Regions from separate parts of the Homo sapiens genome. Here region 2 is linked to region 1. Evidence: promoter capture Hi-C in human tissues and cell types (Jung and others, 2019). All regions are on one chromosome and are shown on one strand. The core of a region is centred on a gene start or on the middle of the fragment in contact, and the rest is flanking DNA. Distances in the headings are between cores, read along the strand shown. Region 1 holds the start of PRR20A (proline rich 20A). Region 2 has its middle 220 kb from the start of PRR20E.

What was found. Contacts are between HindIII fragments. The study calls those that stand out against the background at their distance.
Region 2: a fragment that was not itself captured here is called in contact with the fragment with the promoter of PRR20A in region 1 in 4 of the 25 tissues and cell types used here (dorsolateral prefrontal cortex, mesenchymal stem cells, ovary and 1 more).

Annotation. Positions count from the first base shown.
Region 1 is chr13:57,136,033-57,142,645 of GRCh38, reverse strand. PRR20A (proline rich 20A) reads right to left here and starts at 1,728. Exons shown (of 3, transcript NM_198441.2): 1 at 1,515-1,728; 2 at 1,290-1,360; 3 at 1-268. The coding sequence starts at 1,341. LOC124903235 (a long non-coding RNA gene) reads left to right here and starts at 4,908. Exons shown (of 2, transcript XR_007063920.1): 1 at 4,908-4,975; 2 at 5,466-5,559. The HindIII fragment of the contact is 47,953 bases long and covers 1-6,613 here.
Region 2 is chr13:57,379,581-57,386,551 of GRCh38, reverse strand. No RefSeq gene overlaps it. Among named protein-coding and RNA genes, the nearest start is that of PRR20E, 220 kb to the right of the region's middle. The HindIII fragment of the contact is 3,980 bases long and covers 496-4,475 here.

The DNA.
Region 1 (6,613 bases), core at 479-2,978:
AAGCCTTCTGCCCCCTGTCTCTGGCCAGCGTCCCCGCGGGGCCCAGCCCTTCTGCCACGGCCTCGCCCTGGCCGCCGGCTTCCTCCCCGGCGCCGGCCTCTCTCTGCAGGAGGGGGTGACTCTGGGCGAGCTGGGGGCTGCCGTCTGAAGGGTTTCACGTAAGCGATGGGTTTTGCGGGTTGGGCTGGCTGTGCGGGCCCATCTGCTTCCACGGAGCCTTCAGGGTCCGCAACACAGCAGCCTGGCTCTGGAGGAGGCCCACCTGAGGCTAAAAGAGAAGCGGAGCGTGAGCAGAGAGAGACAGAAGGAACTTCACCCGTCAAGCAGTTATAGGATACTTTTACAAATAAATACTCAGAGAAAAGAGGGATTTCTGAAGTTAAAATTGTGAGAGAAGAAACAAAACTCTCCACGGAAGTTGGAGAATGAAGTTGAGAAGGTCTCCCACAGAACAAAGCAAAAACCTAAAATGATGGAAAGAAGGATGAAATATAAGAGAATTAGAGGTATGCTGTGGCTGAGACATTTCACCAGAAAATTTCAGAGTGCTGAGGAAAAAGAGAAGATTCTAACAGATTCTAGAGAGCGGGAGACAGAGAAAGGAAAAGTCACATGGAAAGGGCTAGGATTCCACATGTCTCAAAAGTCAGACATCTCAAAAGCAGCAGTTCAGTCTAGAACATAACAGAAAATGTCTTCGAAATTTCAAGGGAAATGAATTTCCCACCTAAAATTTCCTGTCCAACCGAAGTTTCGCTGAAGAATCTGGGAGGGGAGAATGAAGATGTTTCAGACAAGCAAGATGTTAAAGAATTTCCTTTCAGTGGATGCTTTATTGTTATGCATCTGTCAAACTAGACAAGATTAAAAGATTTAGGACACTCAGCGTATGAAGGGAAAAGTTTTGGAGAACAACGTGGCAACAGCCGGAAAATTCCAACTCCTCCGGGAAAGAACAAGGTGGAAGTACCGGTTTATCATAGATCAAGACGTAGCGTGAGGACTCGCTCTGCTACGGAGAAACAGTAATACAAAACTAAACAGAAGGAAACAGCGACAACAACAGCAAATCTCAGATTTGGGAAATGGGATTACGGTTCGGAAGAGGGAAAGGAATTTCCCAGATGATGTGGAACCCGGGAGCTGACTTCCAACAAGCAGCCCAGGTTGAGGCAGGCTAGGAGAAGGTGAAACAGAGAATGCTTGATTGAGTTTGAGTGTCAACCATTGGGGAAGAATTGGGGAACAGACGAAATTAAAAAGAGAGGAGTGGCAGGCGTTTGATGTACCTTGATTAGGGGCCATGGAGCGAAGTCGCTTCGAAGGCCTTGGTTCCTCCATGAGCAATCGGCGGGAGGGGCTGGGGAGAAAAACAAGAGAGCAAGAACGGATTTAGGAAGACAGAGGTGACAAGGCAGGGGGATGGCCGTGGCCTTTCTAGGGGAATGAGGATTCTGTCCCCAACTGCACCCACCCGAGATCCGTCCACGCCTCCGGGACCCCCAGACACACACCTGATCTTCCCACAGCTGGCTCCGGAGATCTGAAAATTAGGAGACTCTTCGACGAAGAGAGGCCCGAGGAGTCGGAGGTGTCCACAGGTTCACCGCTGTAGCTCTGAGGTAGTCCACCCGCAGCCAGGGAGTCTGGAGGGAGCACGCAGCAGGTTCTGGCTCCGAGCCCAGCAGAAAGCCGACTGCTGGAGGCCGAGCGCCGTCCCTCTTATATGGCAGCAAGGCAGTCGCGTAAGGGACAGGCGTCGTCAGAGGGGGGCCGGCTGGGGCGGGCCTGGCTGGGCTTGCGAGGCGCATTGGGCCAGTCCCCTGCCAGTCAAATGGGGGCCCTTCTGAGATGCCGCCATTTCTAGACGTCCGTGGTTGATTGATTAATCTAATCATCGAGGAAAAAAAATTGCATAATGACCTCTGAGTGTCAGCACAATGAGGTGTGGTGCCCTGAAAGCGGCTGACAGGAAGATGCGATTAGCTTAGATCTGAGCATGGTCAAGGAAAGCATCCAAAGCGGGGATATCTGGGCTGAAATCTGGAACATAACGTTTGAAATTAGTCATCCTGAACCGGGTTGGGAGAGGCAGGGAGGGAGGAAGGGGAGTGAAGAGAGTGTGCTGAGGCCCGGACTGGAAGGGAGCCCGGCACATTCTGGGAATGGACGGGAGGCCAAGTCCAGGCCCGGAGGTGGTGCGTGTGAGACGGGGCTGGAGATGCGTGTGAGACCCACACCGCTGGCTTTTATTGCTGTGGGTGCACTCACGGGTGGAGGAAGACAGCGGGAAACACAGCAGGACGCTGGAGGGGATCCCACAGTGGGTTATTTGGTTGGTTTGCATCCTTGTGTTTTTTACAGAGACTGGTTCTCGCTCTGTAGCCCAGGCTGGAGTGCAGCGGTGCCATCTCGGCTCGCTGCGGCTACTTGGGGGGGTTGGGGGGGGGTGGCTGAGATAGGAGAATCAGTTCAAGTGATTCTCCTGTCTCGGCCTCCGGAGTAGCTGGACTACAGGTGAGCGCCACCACATCGGGATAATTTTCGGATTTTTTTGGAGAGACGAGTTTTCGCTATGTGCCCAGGCTTGTTTGGAAGGCCTGAGCTCAAGCCGTCCGTCCCGCTCAACCTCCCGAGTCGCTGGGACCCCAGGCGCAAGCCACCATGCCGGGCCAATTACTTTTTTGGGTTGTATTTCCTGTTGAAGTGAGGTTTTGCTATGCTTTCACCTCACATACCTTTTCTGTCCCAAGACCCCATCCAGGGTACCACCTTACAACTCGTCACGGTTCCCCTTGGCTGCGACGGTTTCTCACACTTGCCTTGTTTTTGATGACTCTGACACTTTGAATACTGATCAGATATATTGTGGGATGTCCTCTCCTGAAGTTCGTGTGATGTATTCCTTGTGATCTGACTGGAATTATATGTTTTTGTCAGGAAGATTGCAGCGGGAAAGCGCCATTCCCATCCCATCCTGTCTAGAGTACACACCATCAAGCCGGCTTATCACTGCTGCTATTAGTCCTGGTCACCGGGCTGGGGCAGTGTTGATTAGGTTTCTCCACCATAAAGTGATTTTCCCACCTCTTTCTCTACTGTGCTTTCTGGAAGTCGCTACCTGTAGCCTATACGTAAAGAAAAGGGAAGTTTTGCTTTATCTCCTTGCAGGGGAATAGCTACCTAAGTTCTGTGGAGTTCTCCTGTGTGGAGGATTTTCCCATTCTCCCCCACATGTTTGTTTATTTAATCACTTATTTATATCCGTATGGACTTATGGACACCTATTGTATGCTTTGGTTTACACTCCAGTACTTCAGGGGATGAATTATTTAATAATTGAACTAATTATTTTGTCAAGTATTTTACTTAACTATTTAATTATTAATTATTTAGGTAATTACTTTGTTACTCAATGTTTCCAGCTTTGGCCACCGGGAGCTCCTTTAGTTGGCTTCCGTGTCCCTTTGTCAACCTCCCATCTCAGCAAACTAACACAGGAAAAGAAAACCAAATATCACATGTGCTCACTCATAAGTGGGCGTCGAACAATGTGAATACATAGACACAGGGAGGGGAATATCACACACTGGGGTCTGTGAGGGACTGGGAATCTAGGGGAGGGAGACTATTAGGAGAAATACCTAATGTAGATGATGGGTTAATGGGTGCAGCAAAACATCATGGCACCTTTATACCTATGTAACAAAGCTGCACGTTCTGCACATGTATCCCAGAACTTAAAGCATAATTTAAACAAAAATTAAAGAAAAAAATTCCCTCACCCCTGCTCCACCCATCCCACAATCCTTCAACTTTTGTATCAGTGGCGAGAAGTGTTCCTCATGCAACATTCAGTTTCCTGCTTGGAAGGAATCCTCTATCCTGTGAATATCCCTCCAGAGATAGCACGTTCTTAATTCAGGGGATGCAAGGGCACACACAGAGTTGGGAGGTGGAAGACATGATGGATAAGGTGGATGGGGTAGTGAAGATGGCATGGAAGACTATACGGTATTTCATATATACTTGATAAATCTATATATTTTGTGTCTGAATTAAGATCCCAAGAATTTTAACAAGTTCTTAATTTCATGCAGGTCAAAGAGAAAATGAGCAATAGTACCTAATGTTGAGACTTGTAAATTTTCTTTCTGTGTTTTTAGAAGTGTTAGACATGATTGTATTAATTGACTGACAACCCAATATCTAACCTGGCTCATCCTCACCTTTCTGCTTTCCTTCTTTCCTCCTTCTTCTTCTTCCTCTTTTTTTTTTTTTTTTTTTTTTTTGTTGTTGTTGTTGTTGGTGTCCTTCCACTGATGTCCCTTTAATGACTACAGGCTAAGCAGTGTCTAGGGACTAGGGGTAAAATATTGAGCAAAACACATACTATTCTGCTTCACATTGGGTTTATGATCTAGAAACAATGTTGCACTTGGGGACACCTTAGTTTTTAGCAATCATCACTGTCTGAATAGAAAAATTATGAAGTAATAAACAATTTTGGGAAACACATATACTTGGTTCAAAATGTTGTAGAATCCCCCAATTTAGGTTAATGTTCCTGATACATAGTAAACCAAAAACTGACACCTCAGCTCCTAGGAGCAGAGAGAGTTTTATTCAATTTGGCCAAAACAAGAGGGCAGGAGAGAGAAATCTCTCAAATCCTACCTGTCTTTGAACATATTTGGTGGATTTTATGAGTAAGGTATGTATGTGAGGGGTGAGATGCCCTTATAATCAAAGCTGTTTGCGTCCTTTGGCCTGATCCGACTTCTAGTTGCCATCAAAGAGGTCTGCATGGTCTAAGGTTCATTGTTCTTTGAAAGACAAACAAGTTTATGAATCCTATGGGCTGTGCTTGGAGGTTGGGATGTGAAGTTAATCAATTGCTAGTGACTACTCCCTACTGAAACTACTACATGCAAGCAAGCATGCATGGAGAAAGAAAAGAACGAAGAGAAAGAAAGTAAGTAAAACAAAGTCTTGTGATTTTTATGAAATACAGGCTTCGTTACAAAAACACAGAAGAGATAAAATAAATGTACAAATAAATAGAATTACAGACACTTTTATTGAGATATATTTGCTTGAATAGGCATTAGCTGTTAGATATATTTACTCAGGTAAATGCATTTAAATGATTGTAACTGTTTAACAAGATTTTAAAATGCAACTAACTAGCATTGTTTCTGATAAGAATGTGAAAATGTTATACTACAAAAATTTGTTTGATGTTAATGCTAGCAATATTCACTACACTGATTTACATTACGAGATCTTGGAGAAGCATAAAATTATAGTAAAATGAATATGAAAGGCAAGCCAAAGGCAATAATTGCCTTATAAAGGCCTTTCAATAAATATCAAAATGCTGAGTTGGCCAATACCGTGATTCAGAAAGCAAAAGCCAAATTTTTAAAAAAGGAAGTATTTCTTAAGACATTTTTTTTTTCTAGGACTCAACTTTGAAGGATAGGAGAAACTCCATAATGAAGACAAATTCTCAACTCCATGAGAAAAGAGTAAAACTTTAATTGATGTGTTAAGAGATTTATTGCATTTCTTCTTATTGTCAGAAGATTCTAATTTTAAAATTGACTTCTTTTTCAGGAAACATGACAGATGATATTTTGTTTACTATCACATTAAGAGCAGTGTATCAATGTTGTTTATATGTGTTCATTATGTAATTTATAATGAAGATAAATAATCTGATAAATAATTGGAGGAAAACTCAAGTCAATATCAAAAAAAAGCAAATTCTCCAAAGTAACATAACCCAGTTGTGAAATAAATAATAATATATTCAAGTTGATAAAACAAATATATAACTTAAACTCTTTATTATTCTCTACAGTAAAGACCAGATTATAATCAAGTATAAACCATTAAAAAATTTACCAGATATAATTTTTTGATTATTTCAGTTTTTCAAATGGCATTTATTGTCTAAAAGATTAATTTATTTTATTTTACCTCCATATATGAATACCCCTTAAAGGTCTTTTGAAATATTGGCCAAAAACAACAACAACAACAAAAATGTATGGGCATAATTTCAGGTTGTTCAAGCTTTTAAATAGAACTGAACATTCAGTGCTTGTATTGTAATATTATGGTATTACTCAGTTTTGTTTCATTAACAAAGAAGTCTCAAATCTCAGTGATTTAAACAAAACATTTATTTTCAGATTATATTAATCATGAGCAATTCAAGTTCAGCTATTTAATTTGCTCCACACTTCTTTTTCTGAAATTGATGTTGAAATTTGAGCCCTTATTTGGAACTTGTTGCCCTTGAGGACACGTGAAAAGGGCAAGGGGCAAAAACATGAGATTCCTTTAAAAGTCTCAGCTTAGAACTAGCACCTTGTCACTTCTGCTCACATTGGTTCCAGAAAGCCACATGACAATGCCAGAAAATGAGGTAAGGAAGGATGCTCTGCGTATGTGTGACATTGGGAGGGGATGCTTGATCTTCTAACAGAGAAGAGAATGAATTAGTTGCTGAGAAAAATCATATAATCCATTATTGAAGTATTTTTAATTTCCTGCTTCCATTCCAGTATATTTTTGAAAATATTTATGATCTTTTAATTATCCT
Region 2 (6,971 bases), core at 1,236-3,735, 240 kb before region 1:
AGCCTCCTGGATATTGATACTTTATTCCAAAGTAATAAAGATAAGTATGATTAAGTAATTTGTGGCAAGCTATTAAAGCAGATTTTATTGTGGAGATGGGACAGTAGTATGGCCAGGGAAGACAATACATGGTCTATAGAGGAATCTACCTACTTGTTCCAGAGCTGGCAGATGTGGGTTTGTCTCAGACTCCAAATGCATCTTGAGGAATGCTACCATGAGATAGGCTTTGCACTTTAAAAGTGGAGCAGGTAGCAGATGGAACCCCATGTGTTTAAAACCATTTTCTGAAATTGTGAATGTTTTTTCTGTTCTGAAAGGATCATTATAATTACATGTACTATTTTGGTTAGTTCTATGGAGGAAAAAGTTCCAAGTATGTCAAAGAAGCTTGATCTAATTTTATTTATTTAGTTATTAAAACATGATAGCCTTCCCAAGATACCTGAATAATTGAATTTTATTAAGCAATTACAATGTTTATGTCTGATTAATTTTCTTTTGAACTAAAATAGTGTATCAATAAACTGTAAAACATCAATATCCAGCTTACTTATGTGGAGTCTGTGTTGAAAATCAAACTGATTATTTTTTGGAAGCTTAATAAAAATGGCCTTTGAACTGCTCAGATGGGAAAAAGTCTAAATACAACATAAACAGCAAAAATGTCAGATGGAAATACTAAAAAAAAAATCTGTTAAATGGTCTATTTATAAAAATATTGTAACTGTTGAAATTTTATTTTAAATTTGGCTAAAATTTTTTGCTCAATATTTTTATTTATTTTAGTATATTTTGCAAATATTGCACATAGACTGCCGACATATTTTGCTTGGTTAATTTGGTCCAAATTTTTAAACTAAAAAACTGAAGATACTTTATAACTTTTATGAGTATATGCATATATATATATATATAATATATATAATATATATATATATATAAAATATATATAATATATATATTATATATATAATATATATAATATATATATATGTCTCCATAAAACATATAAATAGGCTGGGCGCGGTGGCTCACGCTTATAATCCTAGCACTTTGGGAGGCCAAGATGGGCGGATCAACTGAGGTCGGGAGTTCGAGACCAGCCTGACCAATATGGAAAAACCCCATCTCTACTCAAAGTACAAAAAAAAAAAAAAAAAAAATTAGCCAGGCATGGTGGCGCATACCTGTAATCCCAGCTACTCAGGGGGCTGAAGCAGGAGAATCACTTGAACCTGCGAGGCAGAGGTTGCAGTGAGCTGAGATCACACCATTGTACTCCAGCCTGGGCAACAAGAGTGAAACTTCATCTCAAATATATATATGTATATATATGTGTGTGTATATATATGTATATATGTGTATATATATGTATATATATAAATAAATAATGTATTCTAAATTCTTTAAAGAATAAAAGAAAATGTTGTAGGCAATTTTGTCAAACATTTGTTAAGATAAACAGTGTTCCTATGGAATTTCATAAGGATTTAGCCAAAAAACATTTTTGTAAAATAAGCCTGGGAAATATTGCATACTTCTCTTTCGCAGATTTAAGATACACGTGATTATTATACATTGTGTTCTTATATCAACATATCTCATATGTCCCATAAATACATAAACTTACTATGTACACACAAAAATTAAAAAGCAAAATTAGCAAAATTCATTTTAGCTTTTTAAATGCACAGACATATTCCAATAAAAGAAAATGGGTATTTTCTATATATATATGCCATTTAAACACAAAATCACTTGTTTTGGAATGTTAATAAATAATTGCAAATTTGGTGCTTTGAAAAAAACTGATCTGAAAGTGTTCTTTGAGATTATCTCAGTTACTTATAAGTTGCGTAAAAGTTGAATTTACCATTTTTGAATTTCTTCTTGTCTGATGTAGAACAATACATTTTTATCTCATTTAAGTAAAATTAATTCTATAAGTGTTTTGTGAATAAATTTTATCTAGACAAATATAAAATATTTCATATATCAAAAATATAGTAACTGCATTATGAAAATATTAAGTTATAGTTCTCAGGACTTTTCATGCTTTCTACGTATCTTTTCATGATTTCTACGTACCTTCTGTCCCTATTGGTTCAGATACAGAATCCATTTACTCTGATAAATATACTCTACATATAGTTCTTTTTAAAACCTGAAATATTACTACTTTTTTGGTATATTATCTCTTAGAGAATGTTTTATTGAGTAGTTGTAAAAGATTCTAAGTGATTTATGATTTTGTGTGGATAATTAGTGGAGAAAGTTGACATGAGACTCATTTATATTGAGTACTATTATCCCACTCAGTATCTTGGTTAAGTATTAATCTGTTAGCCACTAACATGTAACACAGAATCAGAGGAAGCTAGTAAATCCCTCATCTTACTGGCCCAAAATGAAATATATTTCAAAGAAAGAAAGAAACGCATTTTGACAAACTATAAAATTAAAGAAACTGATATCATACATTTGCAATTCTCCAAGTTGGAATTCAAGAGAAAGCTTGCTTAATTAAATGAATTTGCAGTCCAGCAAATGTCTTGTTCACTTTGTATGCAGTGAGCTTACCAAATTTAATTATTAGTTTATATAGTTGTTTTTCAAACTTGTTAGAATTTTCAAACACTGAATTGCACAATACTGCAGCCATTCAGCCACATGTGGCTGCTGACCAATTGTAATAGGGCTAGTCCAAATTGAGATGCACTCTAAGTGTAAAATATACATTAGATTTTAAAGACAGTAAGATAAAATGATTAAAACATTTTAAGATGAGATGTATTTTGGATATATTGCATTAAGTAAAGTATCTTATCAAGTTAATTTCACCTCCATTTTATTTTTTAAATGTCATTACTAGATATTTAATGTGCTTCTTGTTATAGAAGCACATTAAATAACTTTGCTGTAATAGATAATTGTATAATCTGTGCATAAGGAAAGTTTTACCACTTCTTTTCCAATCTGTATGCCTTTTTAAAAAAACTTTCCTTATTACACTTCTAAGAGCCAAAGTAGACAGTTAAATGAAAAAAGAGAAACAGGAAACATTCTTATTTGCTTCTTTATCTCAGAAAAAAAAAAACAAAAAACACCTTTTGGTATTTCACTATTGCATAAGAGAAGATACACCAGAGAACTATTAGGAAATGCACACACAAACACACACACACACACACACACACACATATATGTACATATATATATATAGAGAGAGAGCGACATTGATATTTTAAGGAATTGTCTCATGTGATTATGGGTCTAGGAAGTCTGAAATTCTAGGGCAAGCCAGCAGGCTGGAAATTCAGGTAAGATTTAATACTGAAGCCTTGAGGCCAATTCCTTGCTTTGGGAAACCTCTGTCATAGTTCCTACGAATTTCAACTAATTGAATGAGACCCACCCATATTATGGAGTGTAAGTAGTCTGCTTCACTCAAAGTCTACTGATTTAAATGTTAATTACATATGATAAATACCTTCACACTTATATCTAGAATGGTATTGAGCAAACAACTGTAAACCATAGTCTAGCCAAGTTGACATATAAAATTGACCATTAGAGTATTTAAATACGATGTTAGATGCTGTTTATATTTTGTTATCATATTGAACAAGCTTCTTTTATATTTGCCTAGTTTTCTAAGACATCTAACATGTTTCATATCTTTTTCACATTATTTTACTGCCTCTGTTAGAATAAACTTATTTTTGGTATTTTATTCTACAAATATGGCAAATTTGATTGAGTGGTATTTGAATCATAAACCAGCCTTGAATTCCTGGGATAAGCCCTGTCTTAGTCAGTTTGGGCTTCTGTAACAAAGTGCTATAGACTAACTTAAACAGCAGACATTTATTTCTCACATATTTGGGGCCTGGGAAGTCAAAGACGAAGGTGTTGGCAGATTTGACTACTGGTAAGAGCCTTCTTCCTGGCTTGTAGACAGCCTTCTTGCTTTTAGTCCATTCTGACAATCTTTGCCATTTGATTGAAATATAGATTACTTAGAATATATAAGTATATTTCTTATGCAGTCTTATACTTTTTTTACTTATGTAAGTATATTAAATAAAATATATCTTTGCCATTTGATTGAAATACGTATTACTTAGAATATATATTTATATACTGTATAAATTATTCTATATTAAATGTTATATAGATTATAGAAATTTATAATTATAATTAGATTATATAAATTTATATAATCTATATAACATATAAGTAATAAATATTTCAATTAAGTAGCAAAGATATATTTTACTTAAATTTAACGTAATTATTGTTATAGTTGAGTTAGTTACATTATTTGGCAAGTTAATCTCTATCGGTCACATTTTTTTCTTTCTATGTCTCTTCTTTCCTGTTAATACCTTGGTTAATGTATTATTTTAATTATTACATTCCAGTTATTCTATAGTGTTGCTATATTTCCTGGCAACCTTTTTTATTTTATTATTTTATTGGTTGCTTTCAATGATTTATATATGCATTCTTAATTTATCATCAACAGATAGTCAGAATGGCTATGTAAATACTAGACAGAATAGACTTTAATATAAGAAATTTATAAGATCTTTTAAAATAATAAGAGGGCCGACTCATCAAACAGGTCTAACAATTCCAAAAAAAAAAAAAATGCACCTAAGAATACAGCCAATACATGAAACAAAAACTGGCAAAATAAAAGGAAGATATGGCCATTAAACAATAATAGTTGGACACTTAACTACTCCATTTTCAATAATGGATACAATACCTAGGTAAGCAGATCAACAAGGAATTAGAAGACCTGGATGACACTATAAACCAAATCTCCTAACAGACATCTATGGGCCACTTTTTGAACAAGAGAAGATGACACTTTTTTTTCTCGTCAAGCACAAATGGACATTTGCCAGGATAGACTACAAAACAAGCCTACACAAGGTTAGGTTAAGGAATTCCATTCTTACAGAGAATCTTCTCTGAAAACAGTGGGATTAAATTAGAAATCAAGGCAGAAGAAATTTTGGAAAATTTATAATTATATGGAAATTCATCAGAATATTTCTTAAAAAACCCATGGGGCAGAAAATAACTCACAAGAAAAAACTTAGAAAATACAGTGAGATGAAAGAAAAAAAAAGCATAACATACCAAGACTTGTTGGATACAGCTAAAGTAGTGCTCAGAGAGTAATTTATTCTCTGAGCTGTAAATACCTATATTTAAGAAGAAAAAGAATGACCTCAAATTAGCAAGCCAAAATTTTCCCTTTAAAAAAGAAAACAGAGAGGAAACTACACCCAATCAAGAAGCTTTTTTGATAAGATCAACCACTTTGACAAATTTTTAGCTATACTGACTAAGAAAAAAATGAGAGTAAATGAAAATAAAGTCAAGAATAAAAATGGGGCCATTACTGGAAACTTTACAGAAATTAAGAGGATTATAAGAGAAAAATATTCGCAATTGCAAACCAAACAAATTAAATAATTTAGATAAAATGGACCTATTTCTAGAAACAAAAAAAATACCAAATTGAACACAAAAAGACATAGGAAATCTTAACAGACCTATAATAAATAAAGTGATTAAATTGGTAATCAAAAACTTCTTAGAAAGAAAAGGATAAGACGGCTTCACTCTTGAATTTTAGCAAATCTTTAGAGAATAACTAACATCCATCGTATTCATACTCTTTCAAAAGTATATAAGAGGAATAAACTTCCAAGCTCTTCTGTGAGGCCAACATTACTCTGATACCAAAGTCAGAAAAATATACCAGAAACTAAGAAAACTACAGACCAATATATTTTTTAATGAATGTAGGCACAAAATACTCAGCAACAGCCACAGCAACACCACCACCACCGACAACAAATCTAGCAAGATGAATTCAACAGCACATTAAAAGTGCTATACACCATGACCAAGTGGATTTACCCTAAGAATGTAAAGTTGGTTGAACATAAGAAAATGAATCAATGTACTGTATCACATTAAGAGAATAAAGTAAGGCAGGAGACCCATGATTATTTTAATAAATGCTGAAAAAATATTTGAAAAAAATCAACATCTTTTTATCATTAAAACACTAATCAAACTAGAAATAGATGGAAACTTTCTTAATAAAGGGCATATATAAAACTTTCATAGCTAACATAATTTTTAATGGTTTAAGACTGAAAGCTAAGAGCAAGTACAATACAAGGATTCCTGCTTTCATCCCTGCTATTCATTGTGCTGGAAGTCTTAGCAGAGCAATGAGGCACAAATAAAAAGGCATCAAAATTGAAAGGATGATGTAAAACTCTCTATGTGTAGACGACATGATTGTGTATACCGTAAAACCTACAGAGTATGCACACAAAAAACCTGCTAGAGCTAATAAACAAATTCAGTAAAGTTACAGGGTACAAAATCAAAACATAAAAGTCAGTTGTGTTTTGCTACACCTGCAATGGATGATCTGAAAAGTAAATTAAGAAAACAATTCCACATACAACAGAGTCCAGAGGATTTAAAACAAAAGAAAACAAAACAAAATACCTCTTACAAATAAATTTAATCAATATGCTGAAATACCCCTAAAACCTACAAAAATTTGTTAAAATAAATTAAAGAAAACACAAATAAATGGAAAGATATTCCATATTCATGGACTGGAGAATTTAATATCTTAAGATGCCAGTATTCTCCAAGGCAATCTAGAGATTCAGTGCAACTATTATTCAAATTCCAATGGCCCTTTGTCAGGGATAGAATAGACACCCCAAAAATGTATGTGAAACTTCAAGGGGCCCCAAATGGCCAAAATAAAATTGAAAAAGGGAAAACATGAAGGCAAACTCACACTTCTTAATTTCAAAATGTATTTTAAAGTTAAATAATAAAAATCATGTGACTCTAGAATGAGAATAGATACATTAACCAATGAAATAGAATTGAATCCAAATATAAACCCAAAC